2 separate regions of the Homo sapiens genome follow, and region 1 is linked to region 2. Evidence: promoter capture Hi-C in 16 types of primary human blood cells and fetal thymus (Javierre and others, 2016). All regions are on one chromosome and are shown on one strand. The core of a region is centred on a gene start or on the middle of the fragment in contact, and the rest is flanking DNA. Distances in the headings are between cores, read along the strand shown. Region 1 overlaps LMTK2 (lemur tyrosine kinase 2). Region 2 holds the start of BAIAP2L1 (BAR/IMD domain containing adaptor protein 2 like 1).

Evidence for each region. The method cuts DNA at HindIII sites, captures the fragments that hold promoters and counts their contacts. A CHiCAGO score of 5 or more calls a contact.
Region 1: a contact is called between a fragment that was not itself captured here and the fragment with the promoter of BAIAP2L1 in region 2, in 1 of 17 cell types (total B cells). The highest score is 5.7, in total B cells.

Annotation. Positions count from the first base shown.
Region 1 is chr7:98,202,896-98,206,577 of GRCh38, forward strand. It overlaps LMTK2 (lemur tyrosine kinase 2), which reads left to right. Exons shown (of 14, transcript NM_014916.4): 12 at 679-811; 13 at 1,049-1,291; 14 at 2,569-3,682. The coding sequence ends at 2,597. Among named protein-coding and RNA genes, the nearest start is that of BHLHA15, 6.7 kb to the right of the region's middle. RefSeq lists an enhancer at 698-877. The HindIII fragment of the contact is 3,380 bases long and covers 1-3,220 here.
Region 2 is chr7:98,399,300-98,402,582 of GRCh38, forward strand. It overlaps BAIAP2L1 (BAR/IMD domain containing adaptor protein 2 like 1), which reads right to left and starts at 1,791. Exons shown (of 14, transcript NM_018842.5): 1 at 1,503-1,791. The coding sequence starts at 1,553. RefSeq lists a silencer at 1,465-2,124. The HindIII fragment of the contact is 3,647 bases long and covers 1-2,613 here.

The sequences.
Region 1 (3,682 bases), core at 281-2,780, 200 kb before region 2:
GCTTTAGTTACACGATGTGCCATACTTCCTGCAATCGCACGCGCATCTGGAGCCAAGCAGTGGGAGGACAGAAGGGAAAAAAACTCAGCGAGGGTCCCCTCCCGCTCGTGATCACAGTCCTCCAGTGGAGAGGAGGCTTCATGGCCCTCAGGATTATAGGCAGCTGTTGCCCCAGGATTGCTTGAGACTGGAGAGCAAGAGAACAGAGAAAAGAAGAAAGCTGGAATTCCCCCTTCTCTTTCTGAGCATCAGAAGACCCCCTTCCTGCTCCGAAGCCAGAACCAAGGGCTTCTCCTGGAGCACTGTGTCCAGGGCAGTGCCCACTTTGGATTCCGGGCTGACCTGAGTCCAGGCGGGGGATTGTGGAGGAGAAGCCGACACACTTGTTGCTGGTGGGTGGCACCTTGAGCACTGCCGCTCGTGCCCGCCTGCCTGCTGCTCTGCGCTTCTCTGCAGCCTCAGAGGGCTGCTTCATGCCTCTGCCGAGGTCAGAGCTGCAGGCAGAGGGAGAGACAGGGCCTAGTGTCTGTCCGTCCTCCCAGGCCTGGAGCCGCCCTTGTCTTGAGACGCTTACTTCTCAGTCGATGAGTCTGATGCGCCTGCCAGTGGGGAAGCGGTCACACGGGGGGTTCCCGTGAGCAGGCCTTTGCTGACAGGAGTTTCTGTTTGACTTTTCAGGAGACCCCAACCAAAGAGCTGGGGCCCTGTGGAGGAGAGGCGTGCGGCCCGGACCTGAGCGGCCCAGCCCCAGCCTCAGGCTCTCCCTACCTGAGCAGGTGCATCAACTCCGAAAGCTCCACCGACGAAGAAGGTATTTCACGTCATTGTCTAGTTTTAAAGGAAACTGAAAAATTGAGTAATGTAAAGGTTTTTTGAGGGTAACTTCCCATGTTGCTTTAATGACGCCCCCTGACATGGGCACAGAACTGCCATCTGCCAGCCGGGCCGGGCTGTGTCTTCCGACCTGCAGGGCGCACCTGCCCAGAGGCTCCCCCTCTCCCTCATCACGCAGTGATAAAAAGGGTGGGGTTTTATTTTTTATTTCTAGGTGGTGGCTTTGAGTGGGATGATGACTTCTCCCCAGATCCTTTTATGTCAAAGACAACAAGTAACCTGCTCAGCTCCAAGCCTTCTCTCCAAACATCCAAGTACTTTTCTCCGCCGCCACCGGCCCGGAGCACGGAGCAGAGCTGGCCGCACTCGGCGCCTTACTCCCGGTTCTCCATCTCTCCCGCCAACATTGCCAGCTTTTCCCTCACACACCTGACCGACTCGGACATCGAGCAGGGCGGTGAGAGGCGCTGCGTGCTGGGGATTGGGAGTGCAGGGTCGGGGGTGGGGCGCTGCAGCTGGGAGATGGTGGTTTTGCAGGCCTGATAATCTCATGTCTTCTTCACATTTGCTGAGTAGATTACAAACTTGTTTTTATAAAACTCCCATCATCAGCTGGGTGCAGTGACTCCTGCCTGTAATCCCAGCTACTCAGGAGGCTGAGGTGGGAGGATCAGTTGAGCCTGGGAGTGTGAGACCAGCCTGGGCAACATAGTGAGACCCCATCTCTAAAAAAAATAAAAACTAAAAAATTAGCTGGATGTGGTGGTGTGCACCTGCACTTCAGCTACTCAGGAGGCTGAGGTGGGAGGAATGCTTGAGCCCAGGAGTTCAAGGCTACAGTGACCTATGATTGTGCCACTGCCCTCCAGCATGGGTGACAGAGCAAGACCCTGCCTCTAAAATAAATAAATAAAACTGCCAGCATCCTGAGTGTGCTCTCGGGGCCATGCCCCCTGCCTGTTGTGGTCACTCTCAGGCTCGTTACCGGCCACCCTGTGGGGCCAGGCTGAGGCAGAGGGGCTCTGGGTCCCAGGAACGCCCAGGCTGCGCGCCATCTCCTCTTTTTCTCCTGTGGCTGCATAGTCCCTCCTCCGCACTCTGTCTCCTCCTTTCCCAGAGAGAACCTGCTCTTCAGCAGGCTCGTAAGAGCACTTGACCCCTGGACTTGGGACCAGCCCACATGCCCTCTGGTGCTGCCCCTGGAATGTTGGTTTTGCTGCTGAGTCTTGGTCCTGGTGTGGCTCCCGAGGGCGGGGTGGGGTGAATGGGCAGGGGCCATTTGAAGTCGAGGTATCTGAACATAGGGAGCCTTCTTTCCCCGTCACTAGATTGAAAGATAAAGGTTAATAGGCTCATTTTTTGATTGGAAGTTTACAGATCAAATAATAAATATGGAATACAAAGAGGCTTTATTTCCCTCGGCGCTAGGCTTCATTTGTGCCGATTAGATAACACCTGCTATCTGCCAGTCTGTCGGGGCAGATGTGTGGATCCCAGCTGACTTCTTCTGCACCCTGACCCTTAGCGCCCAGCGGGCATTTGAGCCTAGCAGATGTGGGAGAGTCAGGCAGGGGCTGCTTCCGAAGGAAAGGACAGGAAGGGCGGCTCAGGCGGTGCTGGGCTCAAAACACCCGCTTCCGTTCCTGTGGTGCAGCGCACATGCCATCCACGCCATGCCTGTCTGATCATTTTAAAAACCCAGCTTTGTCGTCTCGCTTCCTCTCTCCTCAACAGGAAGCAGCGAAGACGGAGAAAAGGACTAGGTGGCTGCCAACGCGCACGCTCGGGTCCGAGGCTGCTCCCCTGGAGCGGCGCCCCTGCGCCCTCAGCCCGAGCAGCGACATCCACTCGCCATTTGCTGACATGAGATTGGGAGGAAGAATCCAGAGGTGAAGAGGGAGACGGCTCTTAGCTGCGTTCAAGGCGGGGCCCTCGGGAGCCCAGGTGCAGAGCGAGGCCGTGTCCAGGAGCCGGCGTCCCTCAGTGCCCCGTGCACCCGCGGCCGCGGCCTCCCAGGCAGTGCTCATGCGCTGGCCGTCGGGGGAGGCAGGGGCACAGCCTCCATGTGCGCGCGCGTGTGGAGCTGTGTGCACCGCATGTGTGCTTTCCACAGGGGCGTCTCTGCGTCCACGCCTGCACATCCCGGCGCACGTGTGGGCACCACAGAGGACACGTGAGGGGAATGGTCACCAGTGAGCCATATTTATTATTTCTAGAGAAATCACGAACTGCTTTCTGTAATTGCACTGTGGATAAATGTTCCGAGAGTCTCCATTGTTGTACAGGATCTTCAGTTATTCGAGGGGAATGAGGCAGGTCAAGCCGATGCTAGCCACTAGTTTGATTTTTTTTCTGTTTTATAGTTTGCGCTGCATGGTACTTGTGAAGCTTAAATATTTTGAGTGTTCTACTGTGTCTAGGATTGTTGGGATTGTACATATGGTACTCTTTCATAAATGATAAATGATTCTGAATGTTAGTGTTTTATGTTCATATAGGAAATATTTTCATTGAGTCCAAAATACCACTGTTTTGTTGATGGACTTGAATGCATTTTTGTCTCTTCTTGATGAAGCGGCTTTGCCGCAGCAAATGAGGCTTCTCTCTGAGGAGCTGAGAGGTCTTGCAGCCTCTCCTTGTCATTCTCCCACCCCACATCCCATTTTTTAAAGCCCTTTTGGTAAAAACCAACAGGTTGTGGCCGCAGACCTCAGATGGACCCGGCCCATCCCTGGGGACGTGCTGGCGTGGCAGGTCCAGAGAGCTGCACCCTGCACGGGGCACCGCACCGCTTCCCTCCGCGCAGCTCTTCTGCCTGGTTTTCGGAGGCCAGGCTGCTGGGAAGCTT
Region 2 (3,283 bases), core at 541-3,040:
GTGACAGTATACACTTTGTGTGTTAAGATAAACGGAACGGATCTCTTGGATTTCAATACATAACAAAAATGTTCATGTTCTTCTCTTACTTTCATTCAACAAAAGTTAATAGACTCCTCTGATTTTAGGAATTCAGACCTTGAAAACCCAGAAACTAAAATTTTAGGTTTAAAAAAGTCTATCAAAATGACTAAACTTCCTGATTCAAGCACCAGGGACAGAAAAAAGATAAAACACACCAACCAACCAACCGACCAACCATTTATTTATAACCTTAAACATGCCTATACATGAACTTAGAGAACGTTAAAGTTTCAAGGGTTCGAAGCGCCTAGGCTGAATTAAAACAAAAGTTGTTTTGTGTTCTATTAATAGCAGATGATTAACAGATATCTTATTTCACCTGGAATTCATTTGTAAGTATGTAAACTAAACAGGCCACTAATCCTAAGTCTCTGTCTGTGTCTGGAAAAATTCTCTCCTAATACATGCAAGTTAAGAGACCGGCTATCAACGCATTCCTTAAGGTTAGGTCAATTTCATTAAAACCTCGGTTGTTCTTTGACTTCAAGAACCTCACCAAATAACCCATATATAAAAGCCAAGTTCAACTGAAAGGTGGGAGAGGAAGGGTCTAAGGAGGAGGGCGTTTCCCGGGAGAACGCCCAGAGCTCGGCTCACCTGGCGATCCTAATTACAGGGGAGTTTCACCCCCACATTCTTGGGCGCTTTCTTTTCTTAGAGGAAACTCGAGCTTGTGTCTTTGGTCCCGGAGGGCTTAAGCCCGGCAGCCAGGACAGCACGGGTCACTGATTCCAAGAAGTTGGGAGGAGGACGTGGGCCCCACCGACGCACAACAGACCCCTCCCCAACTTAAGTGCACTAGTTGTAAAATGTGTAGCTGGTCAGGGGATGGGGGGTGGTCTCCAGAGCTCTGAGGGTCAGGGAAGAGGAGAAGGGACGGGGAGGAGAAGGGACAGGGGAGGCGGAGAAGGGCCAGGAGAGGAGGGGGAGACACACGGGGAAGGAGGAAGAACCAAGAGGAGGGGGAGGGGGAGGGGGAGGGAGGGGGATAGACTGGGGAGAAGAAGGGACAGGGGAGGAGGGGGAGACACACGGGGGAGAAGGAAGAACCAGGAGGAGGGGAGGGACAGTGTCGAGGGGCAGGGGAGGAGGGAGAGTGAACGGGGAGCGGAGGGGCAGAGGGAGAGGTACAGCGGGGCGGGAAAGAGAGACAGGGAAGAAGCACAGGGAGGAGGGGAGGGAAGGAGGAGGAAAAGTAGGGGGGAGGGGATGGGGAGGGACTGGGAGGAAGGAGAGGGCCAGGGGAGGAAGAAGAGGGGCTGTGGAGGGCCAGGGGAGGAGTGGGAGAGACCGGGAGAGGTGGAAGGACGCGGGGGAGGGGAGCTGGAGGGAGGGAAAGTACCTTCCCGCGTAAAGTCCCCTTCTGAACCCCGAGGTGGAAAGCCCTGACCTCCCTGAGCCCCGGGCCCTGGGCTTACCCGGTAGGTGCTCTCCGTGAGCCGGTTCACCTCCTCGGGCCCCCGGGACATGGCTGCGGCCGCCGGGCGAGCAAGCGCGGGAGGACGCGGCTGGGCCTCGTGGCCGCCGGACTCCGGGCAGCGGGAGGGCCGGGGCGCGACTAAGGGGCTCTGGAGGGTCGGCCGCCGCCGCAGCCGTCGGCCCGAGAGTGCCCGCGCGCGTCTCCGCTGCGAAAATGTCAAAACTTGCGGCAGCGCCGCCCTGGCCTTCTTCGAGGAGCAGAGGAGAAGCGGCCGGACGCCGCCAGAGGAAGCTGGGCGGGCCGGGCGGCCCCACCTGAGGCGGGCGGGGCAGACGGGGGCGGGGCCGCAGGGCCGGAGGGGCGTGGCGTACCCACCTGAGGCGGCCTGGTGAGCGGGGCCCGGCCGGGGTGGGCGGGGAGGAGGCGGGGCCAGGCAGCTGGAATGGGCGTGGCCAGAGGGAAGCGGGCCCCCCGAGTGGGCGGGGTCACCCCACCTGTGGCGGACAGGGCAGCGAGGCCACGGTGCGCCCCCTCGCGGCTCTCCCAGAGCTCCGGCGACGTAGGGCCCGAGACCCTGGAGTGGGGACCGGTGTGGAGTGGGCTGCTCGCTTTGCTGTTTTGCTAGGGCAAGGGCAGCCTGGGGGTGTTTAGACTGTGGTCCTGGAGCCCTTGTTTGCCTCGCGTGGTGCTGGCCCCGGGGACCCCGAGGCCCACTTCCTCCATGAGGGCTTCCTTCAAGCCCTGCGTTTTGGGGACCAAGGGAAGGGGCCACATTCCCCAGTTGTATTGATTTCCCTGATTGATCTCTTCTTGCCCCGCCGCTCACTGACCCCAAAAGTTAGAGGGACCCGTGGGGGCATCGGCCCTCCTAGGTGGAGAAAACGGGCTGCCACTTGCAGTTTTGAAAGCTCCTGATATATCAAAAAATTAATAAATGCCAGGGTCTAGTTACCGAAATGTTAGTACTTTTTTTTTTTTGAGATGGAGTCTCACTCTGTCGCCTAGGCTGGAGTGCAGTGGTGCGATCTCAGCTTGCTGCAACCTCCGCTTCCCAGGTTCAAGCGATTCTCCTGCCTGGCATGAGCCATCCTGCCTGGCCCCCAGATAGAAGCTTTTTGTTTGTTTTTGAGACAGAGTTTCACTCTTGTCCCCTCAGGCTGGAGTGCAGTGGTGCTCTCTCAGCTTGCTGCAATCTCTGCCCCCCAGGTTTAAGCAATTCTCCTGCCTCAGCCTCTCGAGTAGCTGAGATTACAGGTGCACGTGCCACCAAGCCAGGCTAATTTTTTTGTATTTTTAGTAGAGACGGGGTTTCACCATGTTGGCCAGGTTGGTCCCGAGCTCCTAACCTCAGGTGATCCGCCCTGCTCAGCCTCCCAAAGTGCTGGGATTACAGGCTTGAACCACCGCGCCCGGCCCAGTAGTACATTTTTAAACTTTACATTAACAACGACCTTTAACTCAATGCAGTGTAACCATGCTACTCACGAGATTGTTGTAGGGTTTAGAAAACCACCTGAGCTGAAGTGTTAGGGAAGCCTCTCTTCTTGTCATCACTCAAACTCTGTGGAGGTGTGTGGCTCCTGGGCTCCCTATTTTGTCTCCATCCCGGCCTCAGCCCTGCCCAAGGGTGAGGCAGCTGCCTTCTTTGGGCCTCTCTTCCAGGATTATGTACCTTGGGCTGGGTGACAGCCTTCTCCCCAGTAAGAACCACCATTTAGCTACCTGAGACCCGCACCCAACAAGGGCAGAGGTCTTATTCTGATTTTTTAAAACCTCTGG